Regions from separate parts of the Homo sapiens genome. Here region 2 is linked to region 1. Evidence: promoter capture Hi-C in 16 types of primary human blood cells and fetal thymus (Javierre and others, 2016). All regions are on one chromosome and are shown on one strand. The core of a region is centred on a gene start or on the middle of the fragment in contact, and the rest is flanking DNA. Distances in the headings are between cores, read along the strand shown.

Region 1 (4,414 bases), core at 539-3,038:
AAAAAGTGTTGCTTTGTTTGAGGAAATATCTCTGCCTCCCACACACACTTAAGATGTCTATTTTAAAGCACCACTAAGAAAATATTCATAAAGGCTGGGTGTGGTGGCTTACGCCTGTAATCCCAGCACTTTGGGAGGCCAAGGCGGGCGAATCACCTGAGGTCAGGAGTTCGAGACCAGCCTGACCAAATGGCAAAACCCTGTCTCTACTAAAAATACAAAAATTAGCTGTGCATACTAGTGGGTGCCTGTAATCCCAGCTATTCGGGAGGCTGAGCAGGAGAATCGCTTGAACCCGGGAGGCAGAGGTTGCAGTGAGCCCAGATGATGCCACTGCACTGGGGGACAGAGCCAGACTCCGTCTCGGAAAAACACACACACACACACACACAAGCACCTCATATGTACAGTGCAAAAGAACTACTGTTACTATTGTTACACTTGGGAACGCCTAGTTTTCTATCACACCAAGAATCACCAAAAAACACCATAAGTGCCTTCATGGGAAACGTTTCTCTTTTCCAGGTATCCCAATAATACACCTGTTGCCTAAGGGCCACACACTGACTGGCCTGGAAAGCCGCCGCCTCCTCCTCGAGCAGGGTAATTCCCCAAGCGGGCAGTGTGGCCAGCGAGCCCCGGGTCCGGCCTAAGGATGCCGCGGCTTTTCCCTCGGGCCCGGTGGCTTCCCGAGGAGCGCGAGGGGCTCGGCGCCGCTCCCAACCCCTAGGCGCAGAGGCCATCTTGGCCCTCGACCCCTGCTCCCCGCACGCTTCCTCCGACGCAGGCAACATGGCTGGCGCGCGGGGCCGGCCCAGTCCCGGAGGTCCCCAAACTCCGTGGCCCGGCTGGGCGCGGGTCCCGGCTTCCGTGCGCACCGAGGCGCTCCCAGGCAGCGCGCGCCCACGTTCGCCGGGCAGGCACCGCCCGGAGGCAGTTCCGCCCCCCTGGGGGCAGCCCTTTTGGTCACGGATGAGAATCCGAAGCGTGAGCAGCTTCCCTCGAAGTCCAGCCTCACTCGAAATTAACTCCCCGCCCCCCAGCTTAAATCGACGCGGGTTCACACAACTCGCAACAAGTGGATTCGAAGTAGCCAGTGTGGCCCACACCGTGACTCCTGGAATATTTCACAGATTGAATCCAGCCCCCGTCTCCCCGGGATATCCAAAGGGGTGGGGTGGGAGCGGAAGGAATGAAATTCCCCCCGGGATCTAAGCCGCCCGGGCCGCCGAACAGCCGCCTCGCTGCAGCCTCAGGCTTAGGACCCCCAAGGAGCTGGGCGCAGGATCCCTCTCCATGAAGGCCGCCCCCCCAAACTGCAGCCCCAGAGCGGATGCAGGATCGTCGCTGTTCAGGAATGTCGTGCCCCATAAAAGTGAAAAGTTGCCCGCGCCGCTGAGGCACTGCTAGCTTTCAGCGTTTCCGCGGAATAAAGCTTGATCGGCGGCTCCAAGCCACCCCTCGCCCCAGGAGGCAGCCTCCCAAGTTGGCCGGTGCTGCTCTCTCCGCAGACCCGCGCCTCTCTGGTTCCCACGAGTCCCAGCTCGGGGACGAAACTGCCACCGAAACCAGCGCGGAGCGTCCTCCCCCCGGCACCTCCCCTAACATAGTCGCCGCGGTCCCCCCACGGGGACCCTCGGGCTCCCGTGCGCCCCTGACGCCGCGCCCAACACTCACCCGCTCGCCGCAACTGGGCCCGACCCTCCGGGGGCCAACGGTGCCAGGGAGCGCGCTCACCTGGCGGGCGCACCTGACGCCGCACCGACCGCCAGCGCTCAGCCGGGGACTGGGCTGGGGACGTCTCCTCCCCCTTCTCCCTCTCCTTTCCCTCCTCCCTACAACCGGCCCTGCCCCCGGGCATGCGCACCAACGTGGAAGGGGGTGCGGGAAGCCTGCGGGCCAGCGCCGCGAGTCCCACCTGCTGCGTCCTAGACCGGCTCCTCGGCGCTCTGGACCTGGCTCTCGGTTCCTGCCGCCTCCGCCAGAGGAAGCAGGGAGGGAGAGGTGGACGCGGGAGTGTAGGTGTGGTGTGTCGGCCTCCTCCCTCGGTGACCAATTCACCTGAAACTCGGATGGGAGGGGGCGGGAGGACGCGGTCCTGCTTCCCACACCCTGCCAGCGCGCTGTTAAAGGAACCGCGCGACGTTGCGGCCCGAGAGGCGGGGCGCAGAGGAGAGGCGCGGGCTCCTAGGGGGCAGCACGGATGGGGGTCCCTGACCACCCCGGGGTGCGTTCGGTGCTCCGCCTGCTTCGGATGGAACCTTGGGGTGTCTGATGGAGAGAGGCCGAACGAGGTCCAGAGGGGACTGTTTCCTCCGGAAAGAGGGTCCAGGCACTCAGCACTTTGATAGGAAAGGCACGTCCTCACAGGACACTTTTCTGCTTCCAGAATTTGATTAAACTGTTGCTGGAAAAAGGCATCTAGATGTATTGCTCCAACGAAAGACTCCTGGGAAAATTTCAAAAGTCGTGTGTAAACATTGGCGCTGTTTCTGAATCTCTAGATTCAGAATAAGAGACAATTACTTAGAGGGGTTAAAATGAGGGTGAACTACTGTAGGTGTTAGTTGCCATCCAGCAGGCTAAAGTGCATAATACAGTTTACACATCACCACCCCAGGGTCCTCTCCTGCCCACCCGGTCCGCTCTTGAGGACCGGGAAATTTAAACTATTATGGCTCTTTGGCCTGAGAAAAAGCACCTTATACGTTGTTTACCAACCTGTAGTGCTTTAAGAACAACACTACTTAAAAAGCAAAATAAACTTGGTTTACTTTTTTTTTTTTTTTAAGAAAACGAAAAAGCACCTTAGTTCCGGGTGCTGTATTCTATTTCTTGATCTGGATTCTGTTTCCAAGGGAAATTTCATAGTCTGCACTTAACACTGTGTATATTTTTATGTATGTTGGTTGTTTTTCAACATATTTTTTAATTGTACTCCAGGATGTGGCAATTATAGTTCTTGGCATTTAACTATCTGCATTGAAAGCGAACTTTTAGGTTTCTTACATCCTGCTTGTCTTTGTGTTCCAATCTGGAATGTCAGCATTGCTAATAAATTTCTATCCAATCCCACCCACTTCTCTACCTTTAATTAAATGGTTAGAGATGTGACTCTCCCATACATTAGATCTTAAGGCACAATTCATACTTGAGGAAGTAAAAGCACTATATAAATATGAGGTATTTCAGATGATGGCAGCTTTAATGGGTAATTAATTTAATTGGTATTTTTTTCGTGGAAGTCATTGCTACAAATGCTTTAATATGACTATGTAGTTTTTGAATGATGCAGTTTAAATTGGTATTGTTAACACTGGGGAAGTCAGGTTAATCCCCTTAATGTTCCCTGTCAGATTACTGAAATCTCCAAACATTCCATTTGGTTTATAATTAAACAAGGGAACATTTCCTAATACTCTCAGATTTGTAAACACATGTCTATTATTTTATAATGTATTTTGACATGTTCTGAAGAGATCTTAGGAGTTTTTTTCCACTTTATAAAAGAGAGTTCACATACCATAAAATTCACCCTTTTAAAGGGCACGTACAATTCAGTGGGTTTTAGTATACTCACCAGATTGTACAACCATCACCACCATCTAATTCCATTTTAATCGCCCCCAAAAGAAACCCCATGCCCATTAATAGTCACTCCCCATTTCCCCTCTCCCCTCATCCCTCGGCAACCACTAATGTACTTTCTGTCTCTATTAATTTGCCTATTCTGGACATTTTATATGAATGGATAATACAATATGTGCCCTTTGTGTCTGTCTTCTTTCACTTAGCATAATATTTTAAAGGTTCATCCATGATGTAGTATGTATTGGTACTTCATTCCTTTTTATAACTGAATAATATTCCATTGTATCGATGTATCACATTTCGTTTAATCATTCATCTGTTGATGAACATTTGGGTTGTTTCTCCTTTGGGGATGTTATGAATAATGTTACTATGAACATTTGTGTACAAGTTTTTGTGTGGACATATGTTTTCGGTTCTCTTGGTAAATTAGGTTTTTAAATTAAACTTTTTATCATTTTAAGATAACTTATGCATATCATGTTATTTTTCTTATTCCCACCCTAAACCTAAACTCAAAGACATGTTGTGTTGGGTAGAAGGCTTTCATATTCTATTTGCTTTCCCAATTCATTCCTTCAACTATTTTCTGAGTGCCTAATCTGTACACACACGAGTGAACAAAACTCAAAAATCTCTGTGAAACTTACTTTCTAGTTAGTTCTGAGTTCATCCATATGGAATAATAGGATTCATTAATTGTATGAATTCTATTTTATTCGCTTGAGATTAATTTTCTAAACAACAACATCAAAAGAACGGTTAACTATTGTCCAATATTGTGTATATTTCATAGTTGAAAGTGTCTAGAAAGAAAATCCAG
Region 2 (4,318 bases), core at 464-2,963, 240 kb after region 1:
AGCTATCATTGAATGAATGAATACATTTTCTATGGTAGGCACTATTCCAGATACTTTACATCTATTCAATTGGCTAGTCTCACAACTTCCCTATGAGGCAGGGACTCTGGGGAGTTGTGAGTGAACACACTCAAGGTCTCACACAGGCAGAAAGAAAGGTTTTGAATTCAGGTTGACACTCTCAGCCACTACATGCTAGAGCTCCCTAGACTTCAAAATTATTTCCGACAAAATTAGCCTACATGTCAATATTTCATTTATTTAATCAGTGGTATAGTTTTGAAGACAATGCCTACCAAAACAACTGGGATAGAAAATGTATTTCCTTTAAGCTTCTACAAGGCTCATCCAGAACAAGTCATCTTGCTGAGCCTTTAATCAACATCCATTATATTAAGAAAAGGCAGAGTCCCAAATCCCAGTAACAGTTTTGATCATACTCACACCAATTATATTTGGATGACTTAGCTCCTGTAATAATTTTATCTCTCTTAAGGCGGTTCTATTTATACCTATATAAAAAGGCAAAGCAAAAAGTGAATAATTCTGAAATCTCAAACCTTACAAACACTTCTTTTTTTTTTTTTTTTTTGAGATGGAGTCTCGCTCTGTCGCCCAGGCTAGAGTGTAGTGGCGTGATCTCGGCTCACTGCAACCTCTGCTTCCCGGGTTCAAGCAATTCTCCTGCCTCAGCCTCCAGAGTAGCAGGGATTACAGGCACGCGCCACCACGCCCGGCTAATTTTTGTATTTTTAGTAAAGGCGGGGTTTCACCATGTTCATCAGGCTGGTCTCCAACTCCTGACCTCGTGATCCACCCGCTTTGGCCTCCTGAAGTGCTGGGATTACAGGCGTGAGCCACCACACCCAGCCACAAACACATATTTTTAAAGAAAGGTTAGTAATCTCAGAAAATAGTGAACATTACCCACAAAAATAAGGGCTACTTTGACAATTTTTATGTCAAATCTGTTGTTCTTTTACATTGCTTTATTTTTATTTATTTATTTTTTTTGAGATGGGGTTTCACCCTGTCAGCCAGGTTGGAGTGCAGTGGCATGATCTCGGCTCACAGCAGCCTCCACCTCCCAGACTCAAGTAATTTTCCCACCTCAGCCTCCCGAGTAGCTGGGACCACAGGTGTGCACCTCCACGCCTGGCTAATTTTTTGTATTTTCGTTAGAGATGGGGTTTTGCCATATTGGCCAGGCTGGTTTCGAACTCCTGAGCTCAGGCGATCTACCCACCTCACCCTCCCAAAGTGCTGGGATTACAGGCGTAAGCCATGGCACCAGGCCAATATTGCTTTACTTTTAAAATAGCTTAACAAAGACTACGACAAATGGTGAAAAATATTTCACCTTATCTATACCAGGATCTGAACACCACTACTAGACTAACAACATATATAAGTGTGCAGCATATAGGTGATAAGCTTCCCTACTCTTGCCCTACAAATATTAGTGGCATATTGTTTGTGCTAAAAGCAAACTAGTGATAAGATAGTATATTTTCCAATACAAATGACAGATTTCAAAATTAAAAATTAGATACAGGCCGGGCGCGGTGGCTCGTAATCCCAGCACTTTGGGAGGCCTAGGTGGGCAGATCACTTGAGGCCAGGAGATCGAGACCAGCCTGGCCAAGGTGGCAAAACCCCATCTCTACTAAAAATACAAAAAATTGGCTGGGCATGGTGGTGTGCACCTGTAATCCTAGCTACTCAGGAAGCTGAGGCAGGAGAATCGCTTGAACCCGGGAGGTAGAGGTTGCAGTGAGCCGAGATTGCGATACTGCACTCCAGCCTGGGCAACAGAGCATGACTCTGTCTCAAAAAAAATAAACAAAATAAAAATAAGATATAGTATTGGCACTTACACAGACAATGGGTCTCTTTTGTAAGAGCTATTTTATGATGAATCCTAATAAATAAGACTTTGGAAGAAAGTTTAATGAAATAATTTCCTCATGTATCTATTCCATAGTAAGCTTTATGTACTTTCATGAAAATGTATCCTGAATTTTCAAAGTAATTAGAAACTCAGAAACAGAAAAAACAATGGCTTGTAACACCTAAAACAGTAATGAAGACAGAAAGACAAACTAATTAAGCTTGCTGCCTTCCATTTATGTGGGTGATTTGGAATGTTTCTCTGAATATCCAGTAAGTAAAAATCACCAAATACTCCTTCTCTATGCTGAGTCTATCTTTACTCTTCGGGGACCCTGCAGTAACTCTATCCAGAACCATTACTAACTTATTAATTCATACTTTGCTCGTTTCTTCAGTGAGAATGAAAACTTTATGCTGGGCATGGTGGCTCAAGCCTGTAATCCCAGCACTTTGGGAGGCCGAGGTGGGAGGATAGCTTGAGGCCAGGAGTTTGAGAGAAGCCTGAGCAACACAGCCAGACCTCATCTCTACAAAAAATAAAACATTAACCACAAGTGGTGGCACATGTTTACAGCCCTAGCTACTCAAGAGGCTGAGGTGGGAGAACTGCTTGAGTACCTAAGTTTGAGGCTGCAGTGAGCTACGATTGTGTCTCAGTACTCCAGCCTGGGTGACAGAGCAAGACCCTGTCTTTTTAAAAAAAAAAAAAAAAAAAAAAAAAAAAAAGGAGAAAACTTTTCCTATCTGTCAGATTACATGAAATACTTACCATCTTTAGCTTCTGATCTATGTCCAAGTTTGATCTGGTAGAAACGGAAAAAAACCCAAATATATTAAAAATGTGTTAAATTATTTAGAATCAATGAATAATGTGTAAATACTTCAAATACTTCGCCACAGAAAAAAAAACAATTAGCAACCAATATGTACCTACTAGGCAAAAAGAGAGTAGGAATCATGATCAGAAAGATAAAATTAACAATATAAGAGAGAATCAAATACCTACCCTTGTCCCTTAAGTTTCTGAACTACACATTCAAATAATAAAATTAAGAAAAATCTATTTTACCTTTTCAAGGTTCAATGTGGACCAAATAACTAAGGGTACCCTGATTAAAAATAAATACGTAACTTCAAATTAGGCTACTTGGGAGGAAAGATACAGAAAATAACATGCTGTAGAGTTGGTAATAAGCCCAATAATATGCTCTTAGACACCACATTTTTCAAAAAGCAAAATTACAAATTGTGATGGTTAAAATGTTGTTACTCTGAATAAACATAACAAATTACATTAACAGGTTTAGTCTTACACAAAATAAATTACCTGGGTAAAGAACATTCTCTCACTGCTTTTTAGAAAACTGTCAGTAATCAAGAAAAGACTGGCGGGGTGTAGTGGCTCACACTTGTAAATTCCAACACTTTGACAGGCCAAGGTGGGAGGATCGCTTGATCCCAGGAGTTTAAGACCAGCCTGGGCAACATAGCAAGACCTTGTGTCTACTCAACATTTTTAAAAATTAGCCAGGAGTGGTGGCACGTGCCTACAGTCCCAAGTACTCAGGAGGCTGAAGCAGGAGGATTGCTTGAGCCCAGGCTACAGTGAGCCATGATCACACTGCTGTACTCCAGCCTAGGCAACAGAGAGAGACTGTCTCAAACAAACAAAAAAACAAAAACACAAGTGGCTCATGCCTGCAATCCCAGTATTTTGGGAGGCCTGGGTAGGAGGATTGCTTGAGTACAGGAGTTAAAGATCAGTCTGGGCAACATAGCAAGACCCCGTCTCTACAAAAAATGTAAAAAGTTACTGGGGCATTGGCTGGGTGCGGCGGCTCATGCCTGTAATCCCAGCACTTTGGGAGGCCGAGGCAGGTGGATCACGAGGTCAGGAGTTCAAGACCAGCCTGGACAATATGGTGAAACCCCGTCTCTATTAAAAAAATACAGAAATTAGCCAGGCATGGTGGCACACGCCTGTAGTCCCAGCTACTTGGGAGGCTGAGGCAGAAGAATCGCTTGAACCCAGGAGGCGGAGCTTGCAGTGAGCCGAGATCGTGCCACTGCACTCCAGCCTGGGTGACAGAGCGAGACTCTGTCTCGAAAAAAAAAAAAAAAAAGTTACCGGGGCATGGTTGCATGTGCCTGTAGTTCCATCTACTTGGAAGGCTGAAGTGGGAGGATTGCTTGAGCCCAGGAGTTCGAGGCTGCAGTGAGCTATGATTGCACCACTGCATTCCAGCCTGGGCAACAGAACAGGCGATTCTACTTCTAACAAACAAAAAAACCCACAGAATTTCTTAAAGTAGACCATTTAGGATTCATGATTTGCTCACTATAGAGCCCCTGGGCCCTGAATAATCAGCAGTGGTAACCAGGGCCTCACCATGGGCCTCAGGTGAAACTCCGAGACATATTGGCT

The links. Contacts are between HindIII fragments. The CHiCAGO score rates a contact against its expected background, and 5 or more counts as called.
Region 2: a fragment that was not itself captured here is called in contact with the fragment with the promoter of OCLN in region 1 in 1 of 17 cell types (naive B cells); the score reaches 5.0 in naive B cells.

Annotation. Positions count from the first base shown.
Region 1 is chr5:69,490,164-69,494,577 of GRCh38, reverse strand. OCLN (occludin) reads right to left here and starts at 1,788. Exons shown (of 9, transcript NM_001205254.2): 1 at 1,678-1,788. The HindIII fragment of the contact is 10,406 bases long and covers 1,438-4,414 here.
Region 2 is chr5:69,250,796-69,255,113 of GRCh38, reverse strand. It overlaps CDK7 (cyclin dependent kinase 7), which reads right to left. Exons shown (of 12, transcript NM_001799.4): 3 at 2,663-2,696; 4 at 445-512. Among named protein-coding and RNA genes, the nearest start is that of CDK7, 18 kb to the right of the region's middle. RefSeq lists an enhancer at 4,054-4,318. The HindIII fragment of the contact is 554 bases long and covers 1,437-1,990 here.